2 separate regions of the Homo sapiens genome follow, and region 2 is linked to region 1. Evidence: promoter capture Hi-C in human tissues and cell types (Jung and others, 2019). All regions are on one chromosome and are shown on one strand. The core of a region is centred on a gene start or on the middle of the fragment in contact, and the rest is flanking DNA. Distances in the headings are between cores, read along the strand shown.

Region 1 (3,680 bases), core at 789-3,288:
ACAGTTGAGGGAGAGAGGGTGGGGTCCTGGCCCACGAGCCGCAGCAATGAGTGGTGCCTCTCAGTCAGCCAATCAACAAATCCTCGTTTGGCTCTTCCTTAGGCCCCATCCAGCAGTGCTCAAGATACGGGGAGTGCCCTTGCCAGAGATAGCCCAGGCCAACACCACATTCCTCTCTTCTTGCAGACTCTGTGCACATCGAAGATGCCGAGGCTGTGGAGCAGCTGCGAGAAGCTCTGCACGAGGCCCTGCTGGAGTATGAAGCCGGCCGGGCTGGCCCCGGAGGGGGTGCTGAGCGGCGGCGGGCGGGCAGGCTGCTGCTCACGCTACCGCTCCTCCGCCAGACAGCGGGCAAAGTGCTGGCCCATTTCTATGGGGTGAAGCTGGAGGGCAAGGTGCCCATGCACAAGCTGTTCTTGGAGATGCTCGAGGCCATGATGGACTGAGGCAAGGGGTGGGACTGGTGGGGGTTCTGGCAGGACCTGCCTAGCATGGGGTCAGCCCCAAGGGCTGGGGCGGAGCTGGGGTCTGGGCAGTGCCACAGCCTGCTGGCAGGGCCAGGGCAATGCCATCAGCCCCTGGGAACAGGCCCCACGCCCTCTCCTCCCCCTCCTAGGGGGTGTCAGAAGCTGGGAACGTGTGTCCAGGCTCTGGGCACAGTGCTGCCCCTTGCAAGCCATAACGTGCCCCCAGAGTGTAGGGGGCCTTGCGGAAGCCATAGGGGGCTGCACGGGATGCGTGGGAGGCAGAAACCTATCTCAGGGAGGGAAGGGGATGGAGGCCAGAGTCTCCCAGTGGGTGATGCTTTTGCTGCTGCTTAATCCTACCCCCTCTTCAAAGCAGAGTGGGACTTGGAGAGCAAAGGCCCATGCCCCCTTCGCTCCTCCTCTCATCATTTGCATTGGGCATTAGTGTCCCCCCTTGAAGCAATAACTCCAAGCAGACTCCAGCCCCTGGACCCCTGGGGTGGCCAGGGCTTCCCCATCAGCTCCCAACGAGCCTCCTCAGGGGGTAGGAGAGCACTGCCTCTATGCCCTGCAGAGCAATAACACTATATTTATTTTTGGGTTTGGCCAGGGAGGCGCAGGGACATGGGGCAAGCCAGGGCCCAGAGCCCTTGGCTGTACAGAGACTCTATTTTAATGTATATTTGCTGCAAAGAGAAACCGCTTTTGGTTTTAAACCTTTAATGAGAAAAAAATATATAATACCGAGCTCAAAAACACTGTGTTTGGTGTCATTGGGTCAAGGGTTGGGGATACACACGGCAGAATTCGGAAACAGGGTATAGATCAACAAAAATACACAGTCATAACAAGAAAAACTGGCGCCTGGCACAATCAACTCTCAGTTTCCTCTTCACTCAGCAGCATGTTGGGGATCCCGCGGCTGATGGGGAACATACGTCCAGATTCCGGGCACTGCAGGGTGCCCTCTATCACTTCCACCTGCGGGCAGGGAGGGACAGAGCTGAGCACTGGCAGCCTCAGTGCGGGAGGCAGGTGGCCCGGGAAGCAAGTGATGGGCCGCTTCTCACCTCCAGCAGCAGGTGGTGCATGGTCCTCAGAAACTCCTCATTCTCCTCATATCCCTCAACCGGCCCTTTCGGCACCTGGATCAGACGCAACTGTGGGCAAGAGGCCAAAATTATCTCCGGGCATCCCGAACTCCCGCCTCAGCCCGGCTGAGGTGTGCCCGCCCCGCATTCCCCGGGATATGCTGGGGCGGGGTAAGGATCCTCACGTTATCGGCCGCCTCCAGGAACGCCGACCACTCCACTTTAGGTATCATACGCGCCACGAAGTTGGGGTTGAATTCCACAGGGCAGATACGGACCTCGGTGGCCTGCAGGGCGGAGGAGTTTAGGCAAGCACTGGACCCCGGCCCACCATCCCGCCCGAAAAGGGAAGACTGCCGCCGGCGGGTACCTGGAGGCGCAGGGGGAAGCCACGGGACCCCACCCCCCGCACATGCGAGCTCAGCAGATTGTGGGTAAGCAGTTTCATGTCGCCGCACAAACTCTCGCCAGGCCGGAACCGGAAAAAGGTCGTCCTCCGCTGCCTCACTTCCGGGGATGCTCCTCTCGATGCTATTGGATAGCCAGGAGAACCGGAAGTGGCGAACTTGCTGGAACTTCTCGTGTTTGTGGGAGCTGAGGTAGGTAGGTGAAAGACCTGTCGGGTCACGCGCCGCTACCGGAAGCGTCTCAGCAGGAGGTTCCTACGGCGCACGCCCAGCTTTTTTTTGCCACAAATTCTTCGTAAGATGCAAATCATATGCAAAATAGCTGCAATGCAGGAGCTCTCGTTGAATGCAAAATAAACACATTTTACTCCTACACAGGCGCCTAACACCGTCGTCCTCTGTATCCCACTTTCGGTTAAGGGGCAGAAATACCGCCCTATCTGTAAATTAGGCCCATGGAAGCCGAGCCGCACCTCATTCCTATATGCAAATTAGCTGCTCCAGTGCCGAAAGCTCCGCCCCATTTGTAGTTGCGTCGGCTGTCCAGCACCCAGTGCAAACGAGGCGTGGGTCCCGGAAGCTCTGTTCTGCGGGTGGCCGCTCGCGCCTGCGCAGTGGAGGCGGCCCAGGCCCGCCTTCCGCAGGGTGTCGCCGCTGTGCCGCTAGCGGTGCCCCGCCTGCTGCGGTGGCACCAGCCAGGAGGCGGAGTGGAAGTGGCCGTGGGGCGGGTATGGGACTAGCTGGCGTGTGCGCCCTGAGACGCTCAGCGGGCTATATACTCGTCGGTGGGGCCGGCGGTCAGTCTGCGGCAGCGGCAGCAAGACGGTACAGTGAAGGAGAGTGGGCGTCTGGCGGGGTCCGCAGTTTCAGCAGAGCCGCTGCAGCCATGGCCCCAATCAAGGTGACCGCTGGCCCGGCCGGGCCTGACATCCCCCACTACCCCCATGGCAATCCCCGTCCCGCTAGTCTGAGAGTATCGCTTTATTTCCTGCCTGCCAGACCCCTCCCCTCCGCCCGCCCGGCTCATCCCTTCAGAAGGCCCTCGTGGCTGCCCACCTTTCTCGCCAATCGTGGGGGCCTCACCTCCCGGGACAGTCCCGAGGCATTGTGTTTTTTGTTTTTTGTTTTTTTTTGAGACGGAGTCTTTCTGTGTCGCCCAGGCTGGAGTGCAGTGACGCAATCTCTGCTCACTGCAGCCTCCGCCTCCCGGGTTCAAGCGATTCTACTGCCTCAGCCTCCTGAGTAGCTGGGACTACAGATGCGAGCCACCACGCCCAGCTATTGTATTTTTAGTAGAGACGGGATTTCACCCCGTTGTTCAGATTGGTCTCGAACTCCTGACCTCAGGTGAACCCCCCCCGCCCCCCCCCGCCTCGGCTTCCCGAAGTGCTAGGATTACAGGTGTGAGACACCACTCCCGGCCTGATTTCCCCTATCTTCTGAAACAGCTGTCCCTTAGCGCCCCCGCGGGGGCTTACCCCATCCCACTCCATGACCTCCCCTCCCCCCATGGCGAATTCCCACCTTTCTGTCTTTCACTCACTTCCTGGAACCGTCCCCAGGGCCTTGGACCTTCCCCCTTCTCCTCCCAAACCTTGTGAGACCCCATTCCCTTTCTACTTCATCCTGCTCTCAACCTTTGGGCTCCTCAGAGGCCCTCACCTCTGACTCTCTCTCCCTACCCACTCTGGTCCCATGAAGCCCTCAAGTACTCT
Region 2 (3,680 bases), core at 745-3,244, 800 kb after region 1:
AGTCCGGCCAGGCAGTCACAGAGGTACAAACGAGGCCATGCTCCCAACATAATATTTACTTCTAAAACCAAGGCAGACCAGATTCCTGCCCTGGACTCTAAGGCCACAGCTGGTACCAAGTTCAGGGAACGGCCAGGTTCACCTTCTATACAAACCTCTTCCCCCACCCATCCCTTCTATTGCTGCCTCCATAACAAACCTCTCACCACAGTGATTCCTGCTACCTTCTCTGTTTAGAAGATGAAAAAGAATGACCTGGGGGGACTGATCAAGTTACTTAGGATAGGGAATAACCCCAATTTTACATCTGAAGCCCCCCAGGATCTGTAGCTGTTTCTTCACAGGAAATTTCTCTTGTAGTTTACCATTTCTTCCCCCCATACCAAAGGCTTCTGCCTTTTCTGCCTCACTGTTCTCCTAGGGGACATACCACCAACCCGAGAAGCACACCTCTCCCTGAGGCCTTGCAAGTAAAGATGAAACAATGCGATGACTGAACTAAGTGGCTTTTTTATTAGAGAAAGCCAGAATTACAAAAGACTTAAGAGTTGGCATTGGGGCCCTTCTTCTTGCCAAAGGTGGGCACAACGTTGACAAAGCGCCGGTTGTACTGCATCCGCCGCTTAGCCCGACCTGTCTTCTTCTTCTTCTTCTCCTGTTTGGCCACCTGGAGAAGGGAAGGTTAATCAGGCCCTGGTTCCTGTCTTCCACACCTAGCATCCCTTCCCTCAGGCTCATCTCCAGGGAGGGAGAAGGCAAACCGAGTAAGAGCCCAGGGACTTGGTTTAGCTGTGAAAGGAAAAAAAGTCCTAACACCATGACCACTAATACTCTCACTCACCTTAGGAGTCTGACCTCTCACTTTTCCAGCACGGGCCAGGGAACCATGGACTTTACCTGTAGTGGGAAAGGAAGGCACCAGCAGGTAAGAGCAAGAAGGTGCCACCCAGCAGAACCCCTCTTTTCTCAATTCAAGCCTTTAAAGAGAAGCTGCGCCCAATAGGTAATGAGAACAAAGTTGCAGATATTTGACCTTGAAATCTTAAGTTTCATTTCAGGATCTTCCAGCTTCTAATTTTATAGAGCACTTTGGGGGCCCTGGTCTGACCTAATTTTAGTGTGGAAGCTGATAACCAGACTAGGATCTCGTGATGTGACTGAAATACAACTACACTCTGGCTCAGTCTCCCATGGACGTCTGTGTTCAACATGAGGGATGTAAACAGGAAGAATCACTCTGAACTGAAGACAGTGAGAAGTACTCTATTACCATAGGTGTGACACTCAGCTGTCAGGACTATGCACCCCACACTCACTAGACGCTTACCGGTACTTCAAAGAACATTCCTCTCTCACTCACCTCCAAGCATGCGGCCTGCTACTTCCAGGGTAGTCAGGGCCTCCACCCCGCACTGGCCCAGAGTGGCCTCATCCTCCAGGGGCGCGCCTGCCAGGAGCACGACTTGATCTTCCGGGGCAATGCCCTCCAGTGAGGCTACATGAGCCTACAGGGAAAGATAAGGCTCGTAAGCGTTCCCTCGGGCCGCGAGAGTGAAGAGCACAAGAAAATGGAACCCAGGGCGCACCAAGCAGCCTTACCTTGATCTGGGCGACCGTTTCCTGGCCGGTCACCTCGAAGGTGTGTAGCTCCTGGGCGCGGACAAAGAGCTGCATATTGGCGACTGAGTAAAGAAAAGACGGCTTGTAAGAGAAGCCAAGAAATGCTCTGGGATAAAGGAGATTTGGGAGTGGAAAGCGGTCCAGAAACGATCGCGACGGGATGGTGGTCGCGGCGGCTCACGTGGGGAAGGCCAGGCCTCCCAAGGAGTTCGGATAGGGACTGGAGCAGGGCCACGGAGCAGGCCCCGTTCTTCGGTTCCCCCCGCGCCTTCTGACCCCGCAGCCAACCTGCTACAAGCCCTTCGGATCCAGCCAAGGCCCCATTCTTACCTGAACGGCGGTCCCAGCTACCGCGAAGATGGAGTCGAGAAAGAGGAAGAAGCGAGGGCGCGTCAGTACAGACCGTGGGCTGCGTGTCACGTCACTGCTGAGCGACCGCGCGGTTCCCTGCTATTTGTACCGCCCAAGGCAGTCCTAGCTCCGCCCCTTTACGCTCGCACCGGCGAACCTGCCTGGGCAGGCAGCTCGCGCAGGACGGGGCGGGACCAGACAGTTGCGCGCACAGAAGGCTGGCGTAGCAGGTAAAGATGGCAGCTACCATGTTCCGGGCTACGCTGCGGGGATGGAGAACCGGTGTCCAGCGGGGCTGCGGGCTACGGCTGTTGGTGAGAGCGCTGAGCGAGGAGCTGAGGGCATCGCGTGGGTGTGAGGCTCAGTGTTAATCATTGTTAACCCCGAAAACTAAGGCATTCCTACTTGGGGCCTTAGTTTTGCCGTTTTCGATCAGGAGAACTTGTCCCGAGTGTACATATAGAATCGAGAGGGAAAATGGTAGACTGGGGTGCTCTTTGGGAGCACTTAACACAGTGCCTGGCAGTGTCTATATAAGCCACAACGTTTCAGGTAAGGGGCGGGGTCCTAGCATATGAGTGTGCGTGGGGAATTATGATTGCCTTAATTCTTTTTTTTTTTTTTTTTGAGACGGAGTCTCGCTCTGTCGCCCAGGCTGGAGGGCAGTGGCGCGATCTCGGCCCACTGCAAGCTCCGCCTCCCAGATTCACGCCATCCTCCTGCCTCAGCCTCCCGAGTAGCTGGGACTACAGGCTCCCGCCACCATGCCCGGCTAATTTTTTGTATTTTTAGTAGAGACGGGGTTTCACCTTGTTAGCCAGGATGGACTGGATCTTCTGACCTCGTGATCCGCCCGCCTCGGCCTCCCAAAGTGCTGGGATTACAGGCATGAGCCGCCGAACCCGTCTGATTGCCTTAATTCTTAAGGCAATCATAAGATTAAACATCACTATATCCCGTCACAGATGTGATTAGGTTAGCAAGGCCAGCCAGGCAATCATGGAGGTACAAACAAGGCCACGCTGCCAATATAATAATATCTATTTCTAAAACCGAGACAGAAAGTTAAGCCTTAAGTTTCTAAAGGCTTGATTGACTTTTCAGAAGTGTACATATACTCTTTTGCATCCCACAGAAATCCTGAGAGGCAGACCATTCAGAGTACCTGAGCCTCCTTTCCATCCCATCTGTACCCTGCACCATGGAAAACCAAAGACTGGTGCTATCTTATGTCAACCTAAATAACAGACTCTAAAAGAAAAGGATATTTATTCGGGAATGGGTATAGACTATGTGCTTATCAGGGAGGTAAAAGAAGACAAAGGTTTTTAACAGAAAAATGGGCCAGGCACGGTGGCTCACGCCTGTAATCCCAGCACTTTGGGAGGCCAAGGCGCGTAGATCACCTGGAGTCAGGAGTTTGAGACAAGCCTGGCCAACATGGTGAAACCCGTCTCTAGAAAAAATACAAAAATTAGCCGGGTGTGATGGCGTGTGCCTGTAGTCCCAGCTACTTGGGAGGCTGAGGTAGGAGACTTGCTTGAACTTGGGAGGCGGAGGTTGCAGTGAGCCGAGATCACACCACTGCACTCCAGCCTAGGTGACAGAGTGAGACTCTATCTAAAAAAATAATAAAAATAAATAAAGGAAAGGAAAAATGAGTATTACATAATTGTTTTGAGACAGTTATCCTTGGCTACAAGGATGAA

What was found. Contacts are between HindIII fragments. The study calls those that stand out against the background at their distance.
Region 2: a contact is called between the fragment with the promoter of FAU here and the fragment with the promoter of TRMT112 in region 1, in 1 of the 25 tissues and cell types used here (stomach).

Annotation. Positions count from the first base shown.
Region 1 is chr11:64,315,521-64,319,200 of GRCh38, forward strand. TRMT112 (tRNA methyltransferase activator subunit 11-2) reads right to left here and starts at 2,039. Exons shown (of 4, transcript NM_016404.3): 1 at 1,929-2,039; 2 at 1,744-1,845; 3 at 1,538-1,627; 4 at 940-1,448. The coding sequence starts at 2,006. The coding sequence ends at 1,341. It overlaps ESRRA (estrogen related receptor alpha), which reads left to right. Exons shown (of 7, transcript NM_004451.5): 7 at 187-1,223. The coding sequence ends at 446. PRDX5 (peroxiredoxin 5) reads left to right here and starts at 2,601. Exons shown (of 6, transcript NM_012094.5): 1 at 2,601-2,866. The coding sequence starts at 2,696. RefSeq lists enhancers at 543-1,058, 2,216-2,415 and a silencer at 2,506-2,665. The HindIII fragment of the contact is 15,117 bases long and covers 1-3,680 here.
Region 2 is chr11:65,120,140-65,123,819 of GRCh38, forward strand. It overlaps FAU (FAU ubiquitin like and ribosomal protein S30 fusion), which reads right to left and starts at 1,995. Exons shown (of 5, transcript NM_001997.5): 1 at 1,951-1,995; 2 at 1,600-1,682; 3 at 1,361-1,505; 4 at 842-897; 5 at 491-667. The coding sequence starts at 1,674. The coding sequence ends at 542. MRPL49 (mitochondrial ribosomal protein L49) reads left to right here and starts at 2,182. Exons shown (of 4, transcript NM_004927.4): 1 at 2,182-2,285. The coding sequence starts at 2,208. RefSeq lists enhancers at 1,953-2,042, 2,203-2,472. The HindIII fragment of the contact is 8,684 bases long and covers 1,567-3,680 here.